3 separate regions of the Homo sapiens genome follow, and regions 2 and 3 are each linked to region 1. The links are contacts of gene promoters, found by promoter capture Hi-C in blood cells and fetal thymus (Javierre and others, 2016). All regions are on one chromosome and are shown on one strand. The core of a region is centred on a gene start or on the middle of the fragment in contact, and the rest is flanking DNA. Distances in the headings are between cores, read along the strand shown. Region 1 holds the start of ATP11AUN (ATP11A upstream neighbor lncRNA). Region 2 overlaps ATP11A (ATPase phospholipid transporting 11A). Region 3 overlaps ATP11A (ATPase phospholipid transporting 11A).

Region 1 (4,377 bases), core at 942-3,441:
GAACTGGGCGGTCTCGGGAGTGAGTGGGCGCGCGCCCAATTTTAGATCAGCGATGTCAGCCAGTGAAGTAGAGTCTCGGGTGCCTACGCGAGTTATCAATGTCAGTTATCAAATGACGGGACTCCCAGCACAAAGCCAAGAGAACCCAGTGTGTTCTCGGAGGTACGCCGATGAGACAGCATCGCGTGGGAGGCAGCACTGACCAATCCCAGCGGCGGCCCCGGGAAGGACCGGACTCAGCGCAGCTCTATGTGGAGCTTCCCACACACCCAGGGCCCAGTACAGGGCTCGGCTCTTAGATGGTGCTTGAGAAATATGAATTGAATGGACGAATGATTGAATGGACGAGGCCAGGTGTGGTGGCTCACCCTGTAATCCCAGCACTTTGTGAGGCCGAGGCAGGTGGATCACGTGAGGTCAGGAGTTCGAGACCAGCCTGACTAACATGGTAAACCCCATCTCTACTAAAAATACAAAAATTAGCCAGGCGTGGTGGCACGTACCTGTAATCCCAGCTACTCGGGAGGCTGAGGGGGGAGAATTGCTTGAACCCAGGAGGCAGAGGTTGCAGTGAGCCGAGATCACGCTACTGCACTTCAGCCTGAGCGACAGAGTGAGACTCTGTCTCAAAAAAAAAAAAAAAAAAAAAGAGTAAATGTAGGAAATGTTGCTTTCACTGGTCTTTTGGCCTAATATATAGTATTCTACATTCTACCTGCATAAACCAGGTAATGCAAGGAGCCCAAATTTGAATACTCACAGTACTTAAAACCTGAAACTAACAAAGGTTAGAAAAACAGAATGAGGCCCTCTTTCTCCTGCCTGGCCCGGCCCCAGGCTCCATGTGGTAACCCTCCCCTCACCATCACCCTTGCTTTACAAACCCGCCCCTGCTGTGCTTTCCTGTGCTGCTGGCTTTATCTGAGCCCCCCAGGGCAGTCACCACCCTGCTTGGGCCCCCTGCTGCTGCGCCTGTCAGGATCATTGCGAGATCCGTGAAACCTGAAGCTGGGCACTCAGTACCGCTCCCGGCTGCAGGTAGGAGCTGACCGAAGGGTCTGTGTGCCCCCCGTGAGCCTTGACAACCTGGTCAGGAAAAGACTCGTCTCCATCTCCCATCTGTGGGTGGAACAAGGAAGGCTTTGCATGTGATGAGGAAAACAAAACAAAACAAAAAATGCCCATGAACAATCCCGAACTCTTCCTGTTGGCAAAATCCTTCCAGTGAGATTATTTTCACGAATTCAGTTGTTAAATCCGTAACTCAATCAGGCCTTTTAAGAATTAAGCAAGGAGGCGTGGCACGGTGGCTCACGCCTGTAATCCCACTACTCTGGGAGGCTGAGGCAAGCGGATCATGAGGTCATGAGTTTGAGATAAGCCTGGCCAACATGGTGAAACCCTGTCTCTACTAAAAAATACAACAATTAGCCGGTCATGGTGGCGCATGCCTGTAATCCCAGCTACTTGGGAGGCTGAGACAGGAGAATCACTGGAACTCAGGAGGTGGAGGTTGCAGTGAGCCAAGATCGTGCCATTGCGCTCCAGCCTGGGTGAAAGAGTGGAACTCCATCTCAAAACTACAACAACAACAAAAAAGAATTAAGCAAGGCCCCACCCAAGACATAGAACCTACCTTTTCCGGCCTCCTTGCCCAAGCTCGGTATGATTACAAACCAGGGCTTCTCTGTCGCAGGGTTGCATCTCCAGCTCAGAAGCTCTGGCTGGACGTGTGAGACAGGTCCCTTCTCCGAAGAAGCGGAAACGTGGACATGACACTGGCATTTCTGGTTTGGGCACCACTTGAGCAGACTGGCGTCTTCCCCCCGACGGTGTTCAAAACCCTGATGGCGTTGAAGCAAGGCCACCTAAACTCAGCCACGACTAAAACTCCACAGCTGAGCTTTCCAGCGTTTGTCGGTATCCTTGCTGTGTTTGCAAGGGTCATTGTTTAGATTCTCTCTGCTAAACCTGGGGATGGTCACCGTGTTGAGGGGAAAACAACTTCAGTCTGTTTTTGCTTTAAGCAGAGGTCTGCTTGGGTACTCTTGCCTGGGTTCCTACGAAGTGGACACACGAAGAAAGGGCCCGTTCTCTTTACTCCCCCACCCCCCAGTAGCACCCTGCTCCGAATTTGCAATAGCAGATGAAGGCCGGAGCTGCGGCCCCTTTCTCAGTTGTTTTTGATACTGAGGCATAAACAGAACAACATTCAAAAACTGAGGTGAGGGAATTAATTATTAAGCAGCCTACCACAATCAATACAATATTGCTGGTGTGTTTCCTTTTAGATATTTCTGGAGTTTGCTTTCAATATTTAATTCAACCCAAACTGGTAGGTCACCACCATATGTAGCTTGTATTATACGGTCACACACCACAGAAAGCTGAAGTTCTCGATGCAGAATTCAGGTGTGTTAGGCTGTGATTTTAAAAGGCTTACCCTTCCAGGGCAGGTTACAGTAAGAGACACTTTCACACACTCTTTTCTTGTCTGCCTTTTAAAAAACATAGTAGGGTTACTTGCTTTGCAAATTCTTCTTAAATTAACAATTTGTCAGAGTATTGGTTAAAGATTGTAAGAAATGGAATAATTAGTATCAAAGTGCAATGGCTGTGTTTCTCAGAATTAGTATGTGAACAACCAGATGAAAGTGGGGAGGAGGGAATATTTCCTTTTTAAATCACTTTAGGAGGCCGACGTGGGCAGATCACCTGAGGTCAGGAGTTCCAGACCAGCCTGGCCAACATGGTGAAACCCTGTCTCTACTAAAAATACAAAAATTAGCCAGCCGTGGTGACGGGCTCCTGTAGTCCCAGCTACTCAGGAGGCTGAGGCAGGAGAATCACTTCAACCTGGGAGGCAGTGGAGGTTGCAGTGAGCCGAGCCGGCACCATTGCACTCCAGCCTGGGTGACAGAGTGAGACTCCGTCTCAAAAAAAAAAAAAGTCATCGAGTTATTTTGCTGAATTATTGAGTGAATTCGCCTCTTCCCTGGCCAGCATCTCCTTAGCAGGGAAAAGGGGGAGGTCTGGGATGAGGAATGATCGGGTTGTCTGATCAGGGGTGTCTGTTACCAGCAGTGCTTAGAAACAGACAGTTATGCCTTCCCATGTCTACATGGTCGCCTTGAGCACAATTGCTCAGAAAAGTGACATCAAAATGCCCACCGTTCCTTCAAAACCTGCAGATCAAAGCAGTTTTCTCAAATTCTCTTCTTGCATTCTGAGATATGATTTCTACCTGCTGAGTAGCTGGTCCGACGCCTTCACCATTTTAGATGTTTCCTCCTGAGCTGAGACACTGTCCTGCTTTAAAACCTTCTTGGAAAGGACACCCTGGCCAGTCACTGACGCCTCCTGAGTTCATGTCCTAGGACTGCCGTAACAAAGTGTCACACACTGCATAGTATACACAACAGAAGTGCGTTCTCTCACCGTTCTGGGGACCGAATGCCCAAGGTCAAAGTGTAGGCAGAAACATGCCCCCTTGGCAGGCTCTGGGGAAGACCCTTCACCCCTCTCCCAGCCCCTGCTGGCTGCCAGCCATCCTTGCCATCCTCGCCATCCTCGCCGTCCTCACCGTCCTCGCCGTCCTCGCCATCCTCGGTGTCCTCGCCGTCCTCGCCGTCCTCGCCGTCCTCGCCATCCTCGCCGTCCTCGCCATGCTCACCGTCCTCTGTGTCCTCGCCATCCTCGCCGTCCTCGCCGTCCTCACCGTCCTCGCCATCCTCGCCATCCTCAGTGTCCTCGCCATCCTCGCCATCCTCGCCGTCCTCGCCGTCCTCGCCGTCCTCGGTGTCCTCGCCGTCCTCGGTGTCCTCGCCATCCTCACCATCCTCACTGTCCTCGCCATCCTCGCCATCCTCGGTGTCCTCTGGTTGGTGGACACATCGCTCCAGCCTCTGCCTTGAACGTCACTTGCTGGTCTCCCGTGTGTGTGTGTGTGTGTGTGTGTGTGTGTGTGTGTGTGTGTGTGTGTCTGTGTTCAGATTTCCTTCTTCTTTTTTTTTTGATATGGACTCTCGCTCTGTCACCCAGGCTGGAATGCGGTGGCACCATCTCAGCTCACTGCAACCTCCGCTTCCTGGGTTTAAGCCATTCTTGTGCCTCAGCCTCCTCAGTAGCTGGGATCACAGGCGCCTGCCACCACACCAGGCTAAGTTTTGTATTTTTAGTAGAGATGGGGTTTCACCATGTTGGCCAGGCTGGTCTCGAACTCCTTAACTCAGGTGATCCACCTGCCTTGGCCTCCCAAAGTGCTGGGATTACAGGCACTGCACCCGGCCCAATTTCCTTCCTTTAAGGACACTCACTGGTGGTTGCATCCAAGCTCACCCTACTTCAGTGTGACCTCACCTTAACTTGATTCCACCC
Region 2 (4,377 bases), core at 1,878-4,377, 210 kb before region 1:
ACCCCGCTGGGAAGCTGCGTGGCCTGCACTGAATTACTGCGCAGGTGGTGATGGACCCCGCTGGGAAGCTGCATGGGCTGCACTGAATTCTGCTTTGGCAAAATCATCATATGGGCTTGGGAGGCTTTATTCCTAAGCAGCTAAGTCAGCGCAATCGAGCTCTGTACTGACCTGCCCGTTGCTTGTCACAGTTGTATTTTCAAACACGAAATAAGCACCAAAGAAGAACACCAGTGCGTCAAACAGTCCCAGGAGCGTCCAGTAGATGAACACGCGCCAGCGCAGCAGGGCATTCTTGGCGACGTCCCTGGTGAGGAGAAAGGTGCACAGCGTGTGTCCTCGAGAATCAGGGCCCGGCACCTCCCCCAGGCTCTGGGGTGGCCATCCCTGGACGTTGTCTTCATGGGATAAGATGTGCACGGCCAGTAAACATCAAGTTTGTGCTCTGGCCACAAATGTGGCATGTTCATCACAACCAGCATTTCACTACCCACTCATGTCCTTGGCTAACTTTTGCTCAGATATTTTCTCTCTCATATTCACTGCAATATCGTCATAGGCACAGAGATGCTGCCACATGCTGCTGCTTCTGAAAGCAACGAACAGAGAACACAAGGCACACCCCTGACGTTCACCGAGCTTGTGACACCTTACGCCTGACGTGACGCCTTACGCCTGACGTGATGCCTTACGCCTGCTGTGACACCTTACGCCTGACGTGACGCCTTACGCCTGCTGTGACACCTTACGCCTGACGTGACACCTTATGCCTGTTCAATAAGACAGAATTTGCAGGATTCCTTTCAGACACATGTCTAGAACAGTATATCTTCTCCCATTTTCTTAGATTTATTCCCATTTTCTTTAGATTTATTAAAGATGCCTGTTCAATAAGACAGAATTTGCAGGATTCCTTTCAGACACATGTCTAGAACAGTATATCTTCTCCCATTTTCTTAGATTTATTCCCATTTTCTTTAGATTTATTAAAGATGTACAACCAACTCAGAAGTTTGCCTTTTTATCATCGTCCTTAATCACCTACAGTGATTACTTTTGGATCCAAGCCGTCAAGATCCCACAGAATGGCTAAATATTCTGATGAGGGCAGTGAGGCCGATGCACGGATTCCTGCAGAATCCCAGGCAGGGAAGTGAGTGGTCTTGGCTATGGTGGTGGATGCAGGAAACACGCATGTGAGAAGACTGCACAGAATTGAACACACACATACACGTGTCATGTACACACATGTACGTAAGTGCAGGGAAAGCTGGGTGATCTGAATAAGGGAACGGGTGAACGGCACCAACATCAGTACACTGGATGTGATGCTGGACTGCAGTTTCTTGCGTGTCACCACTAAGGGACATGGGATCAGGGCCCACAGAATCTATTATTTCTTACAACTGCATATGGATGTAAAATTATCTGAAAAATAAAATTTTAATTTATGATAGGGTTTGGCTGTGTCCTCACCCAAATCTCGTCTTGAATTGTAGCACCTATGATCCCCACGCATCATGGGAGGGACCTGGTGGGCAGTGATTGAGTCATGGGGGTGGTTTTTTCCCATGTTGTTCTCGTAATAGTGACTAAGTCTCACGATATCTGATGGTTTTATAAAGGAAAGTTCTCCTGCACACGCTCTCCTGTCTGCCACCATGTAAGACGTGCCTTTGCTCCTCATGCCTTCCGCCATGATTGTGAGGCCTCCCCAGCCATGTGGAACTGTGAGTCCATTAAACCTCCTTCCTTCATAAATTACCCAGTCTCAGGTATGTCTTCACAGCAGGATGAAAATGGACTAATACAATTTAAAAGACCATGGAAAACAGTAACATATTGAATCTGCCAGAGACCTTGGGGGGCATTTCTGAAATAGCAGAAAAATATCTCTTCCATATTATTTTTAAAAAATAACGGGGAGAAAAGACACCCTGAAACCAGAGCTGTTAATTTTTGTTTTTTCTCACTGAATGGAACACACATGGTTTTAAAGGATAACTTAGGCCACAGATTCCCTAGGGTCACAACGAGGAAGACGCTTGTACCCCAGCTCCCTCAGGACTGTCAGAAAGCACAGGAAAGTGCAAACTGGCTCCACACAGATGTTCCAAATGCAGCATAAACCATCCAGCAAGACTTGAAGAATCTCCATTTGAGCTATGTTGCTTCCAGTTTAAACAAGCTCCTGATCAAGCAAGAATATCAGCAGATGCCGAATGCTTCTGGCCCTCAACTGAGGTCTGCCAGGTGGCTATTGGAAGGAACTGCCAGAGTGCTGCCTAGTTACTCTCTCTGCTCTCAGGAGAGGCTGTTTGGAGGATGGTACCTGTACAGGGTCGGGTCTCTCTTGAGCACGTCAATGCCAACATGCTGCTCCATGAGGCTGTACAGGAGGATGGGGAGGGAGGTGAAGCTGATGTTGTAGAGGGTCAGATACGCGGTGTCGTACAAAGTCTGTAAGAGGAAAGTCACAAGAAGTGGCACCTCAGTGCATTGTTACAAACTTTTTGGATCTTTTGATTAAATATATTTTCTTTCTGAAATGCATAGAAAGACCAGAGCGCTTTTCAAAGCTTAACAATATAAACTAGGGTCTGTGATATCAACTGTGATTTCAGGATGAAAGTCACAGCTGGCAAAAAGCCTAACACTGACTCATCCCATTCTATCAGCACAAACTTCAAGAAAAAAAAAAAAAAGGAAAAAAGTCACAGAAAACATTTGCAATTCTGATTGCCATCTTCAAGCTTCAGTGACTCTGGTCGCAGTCACTTCCCATGAAGGCAGCTGGCCCGCCAACCACTGAGCACACATGTGACAGAAGGAGGTGTCCATCTAGGGCAGATGCCCGGGGAGTCCTTCACCCCTCCCGGATGGGAACTGTCTTCTTCCCCTATGGGCACGTTGCATGTGTTAACGTGCCAGGCACCGGGGTGGCCCATGTCCACAAGGACCTCGAGTTGGAGTTAATTCTTGCAGTGGCATCAGGATGCCCAGCCCAGCACTGCTGGGCCCTGAGGAGACCACATCATCACTGGCCCGCATCTCAGGGCCACGGCAGTTTCAGAAGACATGGAACAAGGGGCCTCCAGGACGGCAACTCCTCAGCTCCGTGGCCCCCCTCCCCAGGCCCGACCCTTCACCCCCGCCTGCTGCTGGGCACCCTGGCTCCCTCGTGGTGCCGGGGAGTGCTGCTCATTCCCAAGTCTCCCCTCCCCACAGCAGCCACCCACTGCGGGAAGGAAAAGAAGGCTCAGACAGCCTGTCCCTGAAGACCCTAGGACTGACCTGTTGTGAAAACCCACAGAAGAACTGGTATAAAAACTGAGGGAAGATGAAGCAGACGTTCTGAAAGGCAAGGCATAACTGTTAGTTCGGTGACGGGACAGAGGGAGGCAGCCGCCACCTACCGACGTGGCCCACCCCACATGGGAGGAGGGATCCACGTGCACCCAGCGTGCGGCAGAACAGCACTAATGGGTTCTAGAAAGCTTTCTCTTATTTCAGGGGCAACTGAAATGCACATGTGACCACGTTTTGGCCACTCAGGACAGACAACGTATAGAGGAAATTTGTCAGCTCCAAGAGAAACAAGAAGGCAATGCAGGTATCAGTATAAACGGGAAAGAATCGAACTGCACAGTGAATAAGGAATCCTTCCTCAAACATTTCCACCTGAAAGGTTCTCACTGGTTCCACACTCAATTCTGTGGGGGGAGAAAAGGGCTGGGGGTCTCCTCCCGCGGCACGGCAGGCCCTCCTCATCCTCAGGGGTACATTCCCAGACCCTGGGGGGATGCAGAGTCTGCGGATGGTCCTGAACCCTGTCTATGCTCTAGATGGGTATGTGTGTTCGTATACATACACACCCATGATAAAGTTTAATTTATAAAGTAGGTGCAGTGAAAGAGTAACAACAAAACATAGAATAACTATAATAATATACCGTAATCAAAGTTACATGAATTTGGTCTCTCCCTCCTCCTCTTAAAATATATTATTGTGTCATATTCACCCTTCTTCTTGTGATCTGTCAACCTCATCACCAAGACAGCTACAGAGTGACTGAGGGGCAGGTAGTGTACACACAGCATCGGCACACCGGACAAAGGGACAAGCCACATCCCAGGAAGGAGACAGCAGGACGGCGTGAGACTTCATCACGCTGCTCGGAATGGCATGCAATTTAAACCTGAGGAACTGTTTATTTCTGCAATTTTGCGTTTGATATTTTTGGGCATGGGTTGACTGTAGGTAATGGAAACTGTAAAAAGCAAAGTCACAGCTAAGCAAGAGATGACTGCAATCAGATTCACCCCTTCCTTTCTGACAGTTGCTGCTCCTCGGAGATCAATGACCTCTTGTGGCATC
Region 3 (4,377 bases), core at 820-3,319, 200 kb before region 1:
CCAGAAGGTGGGCACGAATCTGCAGTGACGGCGAGTGGAGCGGTGGTCTCCAGCGAGTGGGAGTTGGCAGGGATGGGAGTATGAGGGCGCGAGACAGTCTCTAGGGTGAGGGATGCGTCCCCTTCCCAGCAGGCAAAGCCTCCACCTGTGTGTTCGTGTGTCAATGCCCTTGCTGCTCTCGCATTTTAAATATGTATAGATCAATGTATGGCAATTACATCTCAAGAAGACTTTCTGAAACAAGCAGCAAGTGGACTTTACAATCATCACAATTCACATAATCCATGCGCCTACTCTCCTGGGCAGCAGCAGTGGGGATCCAGCAGGTGGAAGATATTTGGTACTCAGGCCATGAAGACCCTCCATGGAGGACCAGTCACCTGTGACCTGTAGCCATCGTGTGCTCAGCATGGCACGGCGACCACGTCACAGCAAAGCACAGCCTCGCGCTATTGGAAAGCGAGCTGCAGATGGAGCTGCCCCCTCAGGAGCCCCCACACGCCCCTGTACTGAGGCTCATTGTGTGTCGAAGCGCAGGACGCTTGTGCTGCTCAGAGGAACCCGCTCGGCTCCCACCCTGCAGCTCTGTGGCTGGTGGAAGTCAGTGATGTATTTTCCAGATCCCTCACAGAGAAGTTCAACAATCTTTAACCTGCTGCTGATTTATGGATTCCTGTTGGCTCCAACGCAGCTACTTTGTAGTGCCAGGAGCTGTTTTAATAGCAACGTAAAGATGATGATCCGCACGTCGACAGCATTCCACGAAGTTCACAGGCTCTGGCTGCTGCACGCACGGGCTCGCGAGCGAAAGGGCTCCTGTCCATCGGCAGGAATTCTTAATGCTCTGACATCTACAGTAATCAAGTGTTGCGACTGACAGCGAGGACAAACATTGCTTTACATTTAAATGGTCAGTGAAGGGAGCGCTGAGTACCACGACCTCTAGTCCAAGGTTCTCTCGGTTCAGCCTTCCTTGGTGCAGAGCCAGCCTTGGAAGTCTTGTTTTCCAGTGCGTAGCCACTCTGGCCAGCGTCATTTTGGACCTCTGGGAGGAGAGCCTGTCAGTTACTGTTTCTTTTTCATGAAAAGATGATAAGGTCGGTGTGAGAGGAGGTGCTGCCCTGGGCTGGAGTGAGGGAGAAGACCCCAGGGTGGTGTCGGGAGAAGGGTGCAGACACCGTGGGACAAAGCAGCCACGTGGGGAGCAGAGGGAGCGCGTCCACCCAGCCACGCATCACCCAACGTTAGGGCATCTGATGGGAGGGAACGCGCCCACCCGGCCATGCGTCACCCAGCTTTAGGACGTCTGACAGGAGGGAGTGCGTCCACCCCAGCCACGCACAGTGTAGCTTTAGGGCATCTCACAGGAGGGAGCATGTGCACTCAGCCGTGCGTCACTCGGCGTTAGGACATCTGACGGGAGAGAGCACGTCCACCCAACCATGCGTCGCTCGGCGTTAGGACCTCTCACAGGAGGGAGCATGTCCACCCAGCCACGCATCACCCGGAGTTAAGGTGTCTGACAGGAGGGAGCGTGTCCACCCCAGCCACGTGTTGCCCGGCTTTAGCGCGTCTGACGGGGAGGGGAGGCCCTGCTGTGAGAGACACTCAGGCCGGCCCCCTACCGCAGCAGCCCCAAAGACAGAAAGCCGGACCCACGGAGTGGGAGGCTCAGGTGTGCGGGCTGCTGGGCGGTGCTATACAACAAGTGGTGGAAAGAAACCTTATCATACAAGCTTAAGACCCAGATGGGGAAAGAAACCCAAACAGGTGATGTCACAACAGAAAACGAAAGTGCTGATTTGTTTTGAAGCAAATCACTAGAAACGTCAACACAAAGACTTTTTGCTCCAATACAATAACCACAAACGTGCTAATTCTGACTCCCCAAAACATCAATCAACCAACCTGGCACCCACCCGAAAATAAAACCCTGTGCAAGGCTGGGGAGGAGATGGCCTGTGCCTGGCTGGACAGCCTGTGCCTGGCTGGGTATCGGAGGCCCCCTGGGGTCGGTGCCGGCTGAGGCTGCCTGTCTGTCTGCCTCTGGCCCAGCTGATTTCTAAACATTCCCCAAGGAATACAATACGCCATTCCCAGCCAGGAACTTGTGGAACATGGAATTCCTTCCTGACAGCAGGGGAGCTGACCGCCACGAGGCCCTCCCCAGCCCGGCTCTCACCACTGCGTTACGCTCCACTCTGGCTCGGATCTGGTCAACTTTGCCTTCTATCACTCGGGGGAATATCGAAGAATCTGCTCCTTTGCAAAACAGATAAATTTCTCCTACAAAATGAGAAAAATGAGGAGTTTAATCACAATATGGGGAAGACTAGATTATTTTTTAAAATTATGCCATTATTAAAAAACAAAAAACAGGGATAGCAGTGTGGAAAGCTTTTTAAAGATTTTAATGGACCAGTTAACACGCTACAGTCAGGAAAAAATAAACCCACAGATAACCTCCAAAGCCTCGTTTTATTCCTACACCCTAGAAATTCCACAGGAGAGGCAGGAACGAGGAAAAGAACTTGGCTCCGGGACTCTGTTTTTTCTCTGGGAAAGACACGAAAGGGGACAAAATGCCCTCGGGACGGGCGTTGGGGTGACCCAAAGGGGGTCCTGGTTTCTGAAATGCTGGAAGGTGAACACAAATCCCCTTCGGAGAGTCATCTGTCCTCATGCAGAGCAAGGCAGCCGGGCCACCTCTGAACTTGGAAGAGTCAGGGGAAACGTTTGCGTCATTTTTTCCCACACGTCCAGTAACACTGTGATCGCTGTGGACATACTTGTGCTGTGAACGTGGGCTTCTCAGGCCTCAGATAAAGCGAGTTTCTCTTCCAGGCACTGCAGCATACAGCAAAGGCCACGACAGTTCTGCTGTGATGTCACCTGCTCCTGACACACAGAGCCCCCTCTGCACCTGAAGCATCCCTGGACGGCGAAGCCACGTGGCACTCTGCCAGGTGGCTAGTTTGTGCCTGGGCGCAGGTGCTCCCGACACACAGAGCCCCCTCTGCACCTGAAGTATCCCTGGTCCACCAAGCCACGTGGCACTCTGCCAGGCGGCTGGTTTGTGCCTGGGCGCAGGTGCTCCCGACACACAGAGCCCCCTCTGCACCTGAAGCATCCCTGGACGGCGAAGCCACGTGGCACTCTGCCAGGCGGCTGGTTTGTGCCTGGGCGCAGGTGCTCCCGACACACAGAGCCCCCTCTACACCTGAAGCATCCCTGGTCCGCGAAGCCACGTGGCACTCTGCCAGGCGGCTGGTTTGTGCCTGGGCGCAGGTGCTCCCGACACACAGAGCCCCCTCTGCACCTGAAGCATCCGTGGTCCGCGAAGCCACGTGGCACTCTGCCAGGCGGCTGGTTTGTGCCTGGGCGCAGGTGCTCCCGACACACAGAGCTCCCTCTGCACCTGAAGCATCCCTGGTCCGCGAAGCCACGTGGCACTCTGCCAGGCGGCTGGTTTGTGCCTGGGTGCAGGGAAACGCCGTGCTACGGCGCGGTGACGGCAGGGTGGGAGAAACACCACAGCAGCCTGAGCGGCACGCGTAGGAAGCTCCATGCCCAGCTCCTGGCGGGGCAGAGCCCTGAGACCCCCAGACACTGAGGGCCCTCGGGAAGTCTACTGGGGACCAAATCCAGAGGGCCCCAGAGTGGGCAGGCAGTGGTCCCCAGGGTGGTGGTGGGAGGGACATGGGGAGGGGACGCTCTCGGGCTGACGACCCGGATCCAAGGCCTGGAGCTTGGACGAGGACTCAGGAGTAGGAACAGGGGTCCGCCTTGCCTTCCTTCCTGGATGCCAGGAAGCACTAACTCCTGAGACACCAACAGGGAAGCTGTGGGAACATGGCTACACTTGACGCTCATGTGGCTGAGGTGGCTGCCAACCTGCAGCCAGAGAGGATGGCACCTGGTGACACAGGTGTTGCCAATACATGCAGCAAACCAGTGCCGAGCAAAGGCTGGAGGGCATGGGGGAGGACGGAGGCTGAGGCTGGAGGGGACAGGAGAGTAGGGAGGCTGAGGCTGGGGGGGGATGAGAAAGTGGGGAGGCTGAGGCTGGAGGGGACAGGAGAGTAGGGAGGCTGAGGCTGGGGGGGGATGAGAGAATGGGGAGGCTGAGGCTGGAGGGGACAGGAGAGTAAGGAGGCTGAGGCAGGGGGGATGAGAGAATGGGGAGGCTGAGGCTGGAAGGCACGGGAGAGTGGGGAGGCTGAGTCTGGAGGGCACGGGAGAGTGGGGAGGCTGAGGCTGGAGGGCACGGGAGAGTGGGGAGGCTGAGGCTGGAGGGCACGGGAGAGTGGGGAGGCTGAGGCTGGAGGGCACGGGAGAGTGGGGAGGCTGAGGCTGGACGGCACGGGAGAGTGGGGA

The links. The method cuts DNA at HindIII sites, captures the fragments that hold promoters and counts their contacts. A CHiCAGO score of 5 or more calls a contact.
Region 2: a contact is called between a fragment that was not itself captured here and the fragment with the promoter of ATP11AUN in region 1, in 1 of 17 cell types (endothelial precursors). The highest score is 8.2, in endothelial precursors.
Region 3: a fragment that was not itself captured here is called in contact with the fragment with the promoter of ATP11AUN in region 1 in 3 of 17 cell types (endothelial precursors, M0 macrophages and M2 macrophages); the score reaches 6.1 in endothelial precursors.

The regions. Positions count from the first base shown.
Region 1 is chr13:112,644,858-112,649,234 of GRCh38, reverse strand. ATP11AUN (ATP11A upstream neighbor lncRNA) reads right to left here and starts at 2,191. Exons shown (of 3, transcript NR_164109.1): 1 at 1,637-2,191. RefSeq lists an enhancer at 591-1,485. The HindIII fragment of the contact is 10,476 bases long and covers 1-4,377 here.
Region 2 is chr13:112,858,370-112,862,746 of GRCh38, reverse strand. It overlaps ATP11A (ATPase phospholipid transporting 11A), which reads right to left. Exons shown (of 30, transcript NM_015205.3): 23 at 3,295-3,354; 24 at 2,333-2,460; 25 at 172-307. Among named protein-coding and RNA genes, the nearest start is that of ATP11A-AS1, 110 kb to the right of the region's middle. The HindIII fragment of the contact is 744 bases long and covers 2,756-3,499 here.
Region 3 is chr13:112,840,185-112,844,561 of GRCh38, reverse strand. ATP11A (ATPase phospholipid transporting 11A) reads right to left here. Exons shown (of 30, transcript NM_015205.3): 17 at 2,183-2,286. Among named protein-coding and RNA genes, the nearest start is that of ATP11A-AS1, 88 kb to the right of the region's middle. The HindIII fragment of the contact is 661 bases long and covers 1,739-2,399 here.